3 separate regions of the Homo sapiens genome follow, and regions 2 and 3 are each linked to region 1. Evidence: promoter capture Hi-C in human tissues and cell types (Jung and others, 2019). All regions are on one chromosome and are shown on one strand. The core of a region is centred on a gene start or on the middle of the fragment in contact, and the rest is flanking DNA. Distances in the headings are between cores, read along the strand shown.

Evidence for each region. The method cuts DNA at HindIII sites, captures the fragments that hold promoters and counts their contacts. A contact is called where the count stands out against the background at its distance.
Region 2: a contact is called between a fragment that was not itself captured here and the fragment with the promoter of S1PR3 in region 1, in 2 of the 25 tissues and cell types used here (dorsolateral prefrontal cortex and lymphoblastoid cells).
Region 3: a contact is called between a fragment that was not itself captured here and the fragment with the promoter of S1PR3 in region 1, in 3 of the 25 tissues and cell types used here (dorsolateral prefrontal cortex, lymphoblastoid cells and spleen).

The regions. Positions count from the first base shown.
Region 1 is chr9:88,990,014-88,993,230 of GRCh38, reverse strand. It overlaps S1PR3 (sphingosine-1-phosphate receptor 3), which reads right to left and starts at 1,763. Exons shown (of 2, transcript NM_005226.4): 1 at 1,536-1,763. RefSeq lists a silencer at 1,923-2,217. The HindIII fragment of the contact is 13,055 bases long and covers 1-3,217 here.
Region 2 is chr9:88,479,345-88,482,561 of GRCh38, reverse strand. No RefSeq gene overlaps it. Among named protein-coding and RNA genes, the nearest start is that of NXNL2, 54 kb to the left of the region's middle. The HindIII fragment of the contact is 6,311 bases long and covers 1-3,217 here.
Region 3 is chr9:88,526,428-88,529,644 of GRCh38, reverse strand. LOC105376134 (a long non-coding RNA gene) reads left to right here. Exons shown (of 2, transcript XR_007061653.1): 2 at 881-1,685. Among named protein-coding and RNA genes, the nearest start is that of NXNL2, 7.1 kb to the left of the region's middle. The HindIII fragment of the contact is 4,513 bases long and covers 1-3,217 here.

The sequences.
Region 1 (3,217 bases), core at 514-3,013:
CCAGAAAGAGGAAACCAGTTCCTGAATTTTGAGAAATAAGATCCTTCGGCCACTATGTGAAGTTTCTTCTATAGGAAACTGTAGTCTCTACCCTTTGTATATGGTAGAAAATCAGAGACTCATGCATTTGAATAAAAATCACAATGATAAAGGGAGAAATGGCACTTTCAAAGATGAAAACTGGTTGAGAAATCATTCTCTCTAAATCTTAGGGGGAGGCTCTTAAGGGCTAGCTTCAGTTTGTATCTCTGGTGTTAGGTGATGGAAGTGATTTCAGAGGCCCAAAGTGAGTGCTTACTGGTTTGCTAATGAAAAAAGCCTGACGTGCGGTTCTTCTTCTATGGCAACAAAGTTATTCAACCTAGCATTAAGGTCTGCATCCATGAAATAATACTTTACAGATATGAACACTTCCACAACTCCTCAAGCGCACACACACACACACACACACATGCCCCGCACCATCACCACCTCCTCAACCAACACCAGCCCTGGGCATGGCCAGCTATCCTTGTTAGTCATGTATCTGCAGAGCATAATCCTTCCCTTGTACTTTCTAGGAATTATATTTTTCTTAACTATGCCTGCAAGATTTTCATCTATGAATAAAAAACATTGAAAAGATAAATTATGAATATGTGGTTATATACAAAGTCTGTGACTTCTAATGTCCAGATTTTAGAATGATGCCTAATTCTGGAGGTCTCAGAGGTCCAAGTGGGAGTGGGTACCATGAATGGGGGGGCCTCCATTTAAAAGTAACCTTCTAAAGAGCTCTCTGTTCCTGTAGCTCCCCTTTCCTTATTGGAAGGGTCAAAACGAAGTGTGTTCCCTTAAAAATCCAACAAGAAGTTCCTCTCTTATATCCAAATATAAAAACACCACAAAGAAATATACCATTGGGAGTGTCCAAAGCCAGAAAGTCAGAGGAAGAGAGAGAGAGAGAGAGAGAGAGAGACTGACTATTGGGAGACTCAAAAAGCCCAAAGCCCCTTCTCTAGCTGTTATCTCAGTTACGAACACAACGTACTGATTTTCCGTGGGAACCTCATTATTGCACTGTGGGGACTTCGTCTTCCAGCACCGATTCTGACGGCCCTAATTGCCTTGTTTGAGAAATGTTAGGAAAAAACTAATTTTCCGGCGAATATTGTTTAAAAGAATGATTTTCCCAGGCTAACGACCACAACCCTCTCCCACGTCCAGCATCCCCAGGCCCTGGCACTGTGGAAGCCTAACTTGTTAATTGTCCAAGGAAAACGACTGATGGAACTTCTCCACGAACAGCCTCTCCACTTTCATCCAGGTATTCAGCTCCAGCCCGTTGTAAACGCTCCGGGTGCGGTGGAAAAGGCCTCCTCCCTGTTCCTGCAGCGGCTCTGGGGGAGGGGTGCTGATGTGGAGCGCTCCGGCCGCCGTGGCGCGCCCAAGTCCCCGTCGCGCCCGGGATCGGTGGGGATTTTGTTGGAAAGGTGGGTCCTTCGGCCCCCAGCCCCCCACCCTGGTTCCGCGCCCCGCCCGGGCCCGCCTCTCACCTCCGTCGGCTGAGGGCGCTGGGGCCACCGGCATCCTAGCGGGTGGCGCGCGGCGGTGCCGGGGCGCCCGGTCCTGCGCTCGAATGCCAGATGGGCTGGGAGGCCCGGCAGTCTCAGCGCTCGCGACGTCGTTCCCGGGCCTGGGGTCCTGCTCGGTCGCGTCCTGCAGCCGCCTTCTGGTCCCTGAGTCCCTGTTGCCCGTCCCCGGAACCGGCTTCCTCGGCCTCTGCCCGAGCGAGTCAGAGACTAAACTTTTCCAGCGGCCCGCCGGGGCGGGACCCGCGCTCCGCCCCTCCCCTCGCCGCCCCCGACTCCCGCCCCTCTCCCCGCCCCCCTCTCCCCGTCCCCCGCCCGCGAACCCGGCACTCCTCCAGCTCCCCACCTCCCGCTCAAGCCGCCTGGTCTCCGTGCGCCCCGCCCGCCCCTAGCCTGGACCCCTTCTCCCCGACCCTACCAATCCCCTAGGGTCCGGCTCGCCCTTCGGCCCCTGTTCCCAGGCCGGCCTCCAGACCTTGTCCTCATCGGGCGAGCTCCAGGTGCAGAAACCGGGCGCCCAGAGACCCAGCGGGAACAGGCTTGGAACCAGGTCCGAGGTCTGGGCTTGGGCGGGCGCCTGTCGCCCTGACAGCGAGGGTTTGTTTGGGCCGATTCTTAATAGGAGGATTAATACTATCATTATCGTTGTCCAGATCCTGACCATTTCTTTTGTAACTGGCCGAGCACCGGCTTGGGCTTGCAGGTGGGCGCCTGGCGCCGGACAGCGTTTTTGTTTGGGCTTCTTCCTTTTCCGCGCGGGTCCCCTCCGGCGCCTGCCTGGTCCCTCTCCGCGCTCTACCCCCAGGCACGCAGAGACTTGGGCTCCAGGCGGGGGCAGCACTCTCCCCCAGCCTCTGCTGGTGCACCAGAGCCCACTCCGGCACAGAGCAGCGCCCCTCCTAGACCGGCAGCCAGCAGATCTCAGCCGACCCCCATGCGACCCCCTTCCTCACGCGGATTTGCCCCTTTTGTGTGGCAAAAATAATAATAATAATAATAAATCCATATGAAGGCTTCAAACAGAATTCCGAGAGAAGGAACTGCCAAATTTTCAATCAATGCCAAAGGCCATGATTGAGCGAACACAGAAACAACTGTAGAAGCTTGGGGAGAAAGGAGAAAATTAAAGAAAAAGGAGGAGGAGGAAAAGGAGAGAGGAGAGAAGCGGGAGGAAGAAGACGAAAAAGCAAGGAGAGGCCTGTTATCCGACCGTGCATTCCTGGGCCGGCAGGATTGGGCCGCAGGGGCCGCTGCAGAGAGTTGAGTTTGTGCAAAGGCCGCTCGTTACTTTCTGTCTTTTGCCCTCTTGCCTCCAGAGGATCAGCCCAGCGCATCCTTCTCTTGGAGCAGGGTGCATACGCTTATTTGGGGTGCAGTTTGAGCGGTGAAGGGCACCAAGAGTGGAAGTCGGCGGCACTCCTGTTCCCTGCAGAGAAACGCAAGCCCTCAGCAATTGAGCTGAAGGAGGCAAGTGACTCTGCCTGCTGAGGCTGCCAGCCCTAGAGGCTCTGGCCCCCGGGAGCTGGGGTACTTCCCAGCGTTTTCGCCTAAGCCACTTCGCCTGTGCTACTGTGGAGTCTTCCGGCACTGTAGCCTTCCAACTTGTTCAAAGTGCCTGGTGCACGGCTCTGAGAAGCCACTTCTGT
Region 2 (3,217 bases), core at 356-2,855, 510 kb after region 1:
CAATCACAATAAAGTAGAAAATGTGAAACTTAACACTGCTTATTACAATTTTTATATACGCTGGAAGATGCTAGTGTTGTTAAAAAAATGTAACAACTAAAATCTTCCTAAAAACGAACATTATATAACAAGCAAAATCGACTGTGTGGAACTGAAAGCGTAATCTCAAACATCAAAAATAAAGCCAGCCGGGCATGGTTACTCACACCTGTAATCCCAGCACTTTGGGAGGCTGAGGCGGGAGGAACACTTGAGTCCAGAAGTTTAGGATGAGTCTGAGAAACACAGTGAGACGCCTTCTATGGAAAAAAAAAGAAAGAAAGAAAGAAAGAAAAAAACAAAGCAAAACATTGTAAGGCCTTAAGTGACACCCAATGATGACAGGCCGGCAGAACAGCGGCAAGCCCTGTGCCAGGCATAGGCCTGCACTGTGCTTACTTGTCTTTGACACACTGCTCTCCCCTACAGGACTGCTCTGAAAATGACCAGTTTTGTCCTTAGTAGCATCCATCAGATTTAGATTAAATTAAGAATCTAGTGGCTACTTTAATCTAGTGGTTAAAGCTACTTTACCATAGTTATTACAGAAAAACTGGAAGTAACATTTTGTTAAAACCAGGTCCCCAATAAATAAAACAAAGAGTAAACACACTACAGGATAAAGACTGACTTTAGGAAAAAGACCTACTGCTGATGTCATTTCTCTAACAGTCATCAGACTTTTCTATGAGAAGACCAGAGGCTCACACTTGTATACACGGTGTGCAGGTGCAGGGAAGACCAAGGAAAGCAGCTATCCAATTTTTTACAAAGCCACAGAAAGACAAGTTCGAGGAAAAAGCTTTAGAGTTATTTTCACGATCTGTATCTGAAGACAATTCACAATGCTGCCACTCAACCCTGGGTTGTTAACAACTGTTACTTATGTTAACATCAAGGTTTTTTTTTTTTTTTTTTTTTTTTTTTTGAGACAGAGTCTTGTACAGACTCTGTCGTCCAGGCTGGAGTGCAGTGGCACGATGTCAACTCATTGCAACCTCTGCCTCCGGGGTTCAAGCTATTCTTCTGCCTCAGCCTCCTGAGTAGCTGGGATCACAGGCGTGCGCCACCATACCCGGCTAATTTTTTTGTATTTTTAGTAGAGATGGGGTTTCACAATTTTGGCCAGGCTGGTCTCGAACTCCTGACCTTGTGATCCATCCACCTTGGCCTCCCAAAGTCCTGAGATTACAATAGGCATGAGCCACCGCGCCCAGCCCAACATAAAGGTTTTTAAAAGGCTTTCTGTCCTTTCACATTATAATCTGCTTCAGTAATTCCAACATAGAAACAGACAATTTTAAAGTTATGTATAATCTGCTTACCCTATTAAGGATTTTAGGTAGTTTGTGTGGTATATAAAGCTCTTAACTTTCCCTCCAGAAAGCATACACTGAAAATAATGAGAAAGAGGATGGTAAAAGCAGAGCCAGGAGTAAGCCTCCTCTCTCACTGAACAGTCAACGTAAAAAAACAAATGCACAGCAAGGCCCCGCACTTGTGTGTCACCTCAGAGCTGACAGGGGCCGACGCACCACTTGGTCCAGGGCCCTCACTTGAAAATTAAGCAGAAAGAATGCCAATGTCATGTTTAGGCAAACTTATGTGCCATGACATTATTAAAAAACCGTCTGCTACTTGGTTTACCAAAACTAATCATAAGGGCAGACGAAGACTCTAGGAATGGCTGGAGAAGTAACTTAAAGACTCAATGAATTCTCTCAACTCCACATGCTGCCTAAAACTTACCAGTATATGACACAGAACAAACTCATTACTATAAAAATTAAACATAAGATTGTAGGTTATGAGCAAAAGAAATCTAGGCTTTTTAAGTCTCCTGTATGGTTAAAAAAATTAGGTTTATGAAGATATTACTTTCATGATATATTCAAAGTGTCTTTAAAATATAGTTATCTGGCTGGGTGCCGTGACTCACGCCTATAATCTCAGCACTTTGGGAGGCTGAGAAGGGTGGATGGCTTGAGCCCAGGAGTTCGAGACCAGCCTTGGCAACATGGTTGAAACCCTGTCTCTACCAAAAATACAAAAATTAGCCAGTCTCATAACCCAGTCTCAAAATAAATAAGCAAATGAATAGATTTAAAAGTTAAAATAAAGTATCTATATTCTTGTGATGAAAAGTTATTAAAATTTCTTCAGCATACTTTCTCTCCAAAAAAGACATCATTATTTTTATTTTTTTAGTTATGGAAAAAAAATTTTTTTAAGTTCCGGGATACATGTGCAGAATGTGCAGGTTTGTTACATAAGTATATGCGTGCCATCGTGGAGACATCATTTATTTTTTAAGCACAAAAATAATTTTGGGTTATAATTCTTAGCATACAGAGACACAGATGCCTACATTCTAATGACTAATATAAAACCTTTTATTTGGCAATTTGGAAATAAACACTTTTTAGATATTAACTTATGAAATAAGGTTACAGAAAATTATTCATAGAAAATATTACACTATAGATAGATTACTCAAATCACTCCAATGAAGTAATTTAATTGAGGTGTTCATAAAGCAGCTCAGAGTCTGGGCACAAAATAGAGATCCGAGTCTTCATTCCCCTATAATCCTGCGTGAGATACTCAATCTCTGCCTCTTCCTCAAAAGACCATTAAGAACTAAACAAAATAGTGTGGAAAGTGCTTGGCAAGGTACTTATTAAGCATTTATGAATGCTTTATTAGTACCAAATGCTTTTGTCATCACAGAGTTTAATTGTACCAAGAGAAAAAACAAAAATTCTCCAACAGAGTGATGACTGCTTTAAATAGGAGAGTTGATTCATTAGTTTACAAATACTAGTTATCAAGTTTCAAACTTCAGACTAAACTTGCATTGTTATACTTTTGGGGCAATATTTACAGAGCTGTACCCATGACAGATAACACAGACAACGAATAATCTACCTTCAGCAAGGAAGGTCAGAAAACCCAGACTCAAGAGAGGCACCTGTGCTTCCCAATGGCTCATTTCCTCCTTGAACTGCAGCCTTCTTCCACCTAAGCCGGAGTAGACCCTGCCTTCAGTCCACCTCAGTAACCTCCATGGACTTGGAGCACAGGCACTGCACTGACACAAACCTAGAAGCCCAGCGTCCCAAAGCCCAAGTTTGCATTCATCCCTCACCAAGTATCAACCATTCTCCCAAAGGCAGGT
Region 3 (3,217 bases), core at 507-3,006, 460 kb after region 1:
CCAAACCCCTTCCTATTGCAGAAAGCTTGTGTCATTTGCCTCCAAATGCTGTCCCCCTGACCTCTCCCTGGGGAGGGAGTGGGCTGCAGGTGCCACAGGATGCAGCATGAAGCCCTGCATTCTCCCACCGCTGCTGGAGCCAAGTTCTCCTTCATGTTTCTCTCTGCACAACACACACAGGAACACTCACAAATGCAGTCCTGGAAACAGGATTAGGTGGCCCCTACTTTCCTAGCTGGGATATGCAAAGCCACTTTCATACCAAACTTCCTTCCAGGGCATCTAAAGGTGACATGAGTGTGGGCATCTGTAAGCAGCTTTACTTGCCTTGGACAACCACAGGGAAACTGGGCAGTGAGTCCCACTCCAGATGCTGGCCGGAGAGACCCCAGTGAAGGCACCCTCAGGCCTGCCCTCCCTCCCTGAGCCCCTCTCCCCTCCCCGCTGCCCCTGATTTAAGGGTAGTCCTTTCTGCATTTCCTCCCGAGAGCACGATAATAACTCACTGCTTGACCAACTTCAGACAGACTCCTCCGGCACTTTTTTCAGCTAGGCCTCATCCTTGGACCCCGTGCTCAGCCTGCCTGAGCCAGTCTTAGCAAAGAATCCTGTTAAGTCCTCTTCTGCCTTTAGTATCCAATCATCCTGGCCTGCCTGCAGCAGGTGTCCTGTTAAGTTAGTTTAGCAAGATACCCCCCTACCGTCAAGGTCCCCTCTGTTTTCCATCTGCCAACCCCCCACCTCCACCCTGTTCCTGGGCTGTAAATCCCCACTTGTCCTTGTGTTGGGAATTGTGCTCGGCGCTTTCCTTTTGCAGTAGTGCTCAACAGAGTCTGTCTTTTTGCCTTGGATAGTGTTCAGTTCTATTTCTCATTAACAGTTATGAAGGGCTGTGACACCTTGCTTGGCTTCTAGTCTTGACATAGACTAAAAGGCAGAAGGTTTCCAGAGCTCACGCTGGATGGCTGGGCAGATGAGGTCTTCAGAGACTCTCCAGGGAGGTACGGCTCTGCCTTTCTACTCAGTATGCAAGCTCCCCAGACTTCTGAAGAGGGATGTTTCTCCTTAGAGAAAGTCTCCCTGAATGTGGGTATTTCATAAGTTCTTGGACCAGTTCTGCTCTTCTCAGTCCTGCTTTTTGTCAACATACATTGAATCACTTCTCCCTGGCAAAAGAGCAGCATGTGAAGAAAATGTGATCCTTGGTGGTTTGACATGAAATTGACTTTTTCTTCTAGCAACACTTATGAATATTCAAATACAATTATGGAAAAGATTTTTTGCACTGATCAGCATAACAAACAAATTAGACATCCCAGTGTGCAAATATAACTTTCTGAATTTCCTAGTTTTAAATATTCCAGTGGCCAGGATACCCTATCCAGAGGAAGCAGGACCGTCTCAGCTGACCAGGGCCCTTGCCTGCTAATAGCATCATGCATACCTTGTTTCTTCATGAGGCTGCTTGCCCGAGTTCCAATCCACCAGGAATTCATCTTGTATCATAGCTGATGGATCCCGTGTCTCGTTTCTAAGTTGGAGCATCACTTTGCAGCTCCCAACCAGGGCCAGCCACAAAATTTGAAAGGCCCAGTGCAAAATAAAAATGCAGAGCCCCTTGTTCAAAAAGCAGGAAAAGAATGGGCCAGCAAAGGAACTAAAATAAACGAAAGCTTTTCCCTTTCTTCCATGGTCTCTCTTTTGACCTATCATGGTGTTTTTATTTGCTACTGAATATCATGCTTTCTTGGGACAGGGTGAGTGTCAACTGTCACACTTGCCCAGGGGCCCTGCCGAGTGACTTGGTGGGTACACAGTCCACCAGCTGCTTGCATGGCCACGCCCACCCTGAGATGCCACGGGTAGTGTAGTAAAAGCATCTGATGTCAACCCCACACCCCTCCACACATACACACTCAGGTTCCCGCAGACCATGGAGGGCACCAGCGGTTGCTGGGTGAGGGTGGGGATGGGGAGGCCATGTGGGGCCCAGGACACCAAAGGGAGGGAGACGAGCAGTCAATAATGTGCCTGGGAGAGGTGGCGGACCAGCAGCAGATGGGAGCACACATGAGGCAGGCTCCAAGTGCTCACGTATGCTCCACTGTCCAATGAGGCCTCACTTACACCACACAAATTCAAAGATAAAATAAAGTTTTTTTTGTTTTGTTTTGTTTTGTTTTGTTTTGGAGACAAGAGTCTCACTCTGTCACCCAGGCTAGAGTGCAGTGGCGCAATCTTGGCTCACTGCAACTTCCACCTTCCAGGTTCAAGTGATTCTCCTGCCTCAGCCTCCCAAACAGCTGGGGCTACAGGTGTCCACCACCACACCTGGCTAATTTTTTGTATTTTTAGTAGAGATGGGGTTTCTCCATGCTGGCCAGGCTGGTCTCAAACTCCTGACCTCAAGTGATCCGCCCCCCTCGGCCTCCTAAAGTGCTGGGATTAGAGGCATGAGCCACCGTGCCCAGCCTGATAAAATAATTAAGAATGTCAAGACAGCAATCACAGAGCACTAAACCCCAAGTGCAGGGCCCTGTGCCTCTGAGGGGCTGCATGGCCACGAAGCCACCCTGCTCCAGCATTGGCAGCAGGAAATACAATCCATTCCTGGATGGAGGTTGGGTTAGTTCCTCAGGGCTGCTGTAACAAAGACAACCTGGGTGGCTCCAAACAACAGAAATGGGCTATCTCATAGTTCCAGAGGCCAGAAGTCTGACATCAGCGTGGTGCAGGGCCGTGCTCCCTCTGAAACCTTAGGAAGTCCTTGCTTGCCTCTTCCTGGCTTCTGGTGGCTGCAGCAATCTTTGGAGTTCCTTGGCTTGTGGCTGTGTCACTCCAATCCTAGGTCTTCACCGGTCTCCTTTTTATAAGAACACAGTCACATTGGGTCAGCGGCCCACCCTGCTCCAATGTGACCTAACTTTAACTATTACATCTGCAAGGATCCTGTTTCCAAATAAGGTCACATTTTGAGGTCCTGAGAGTTAGGACTTCAGAATGGCTCATCTTTGTGGGGGATGCACAACCCATAATAGAGGTGTGGAGGAAGGAGAGTTTCTTCAAGGGGCAGGACTGGGAAAGACTTTGTAAGGAGGCTGGTCCTTGAAAGAGGTGGCAGGAGCGGGGCCACAGCAGGTTGGGAGAGGGAAGAGTGAGCTTCTCAGTTGGGCCACCATGAGGGTGGCTGTCACTGGGTGCAGACAGCCGACCCCAC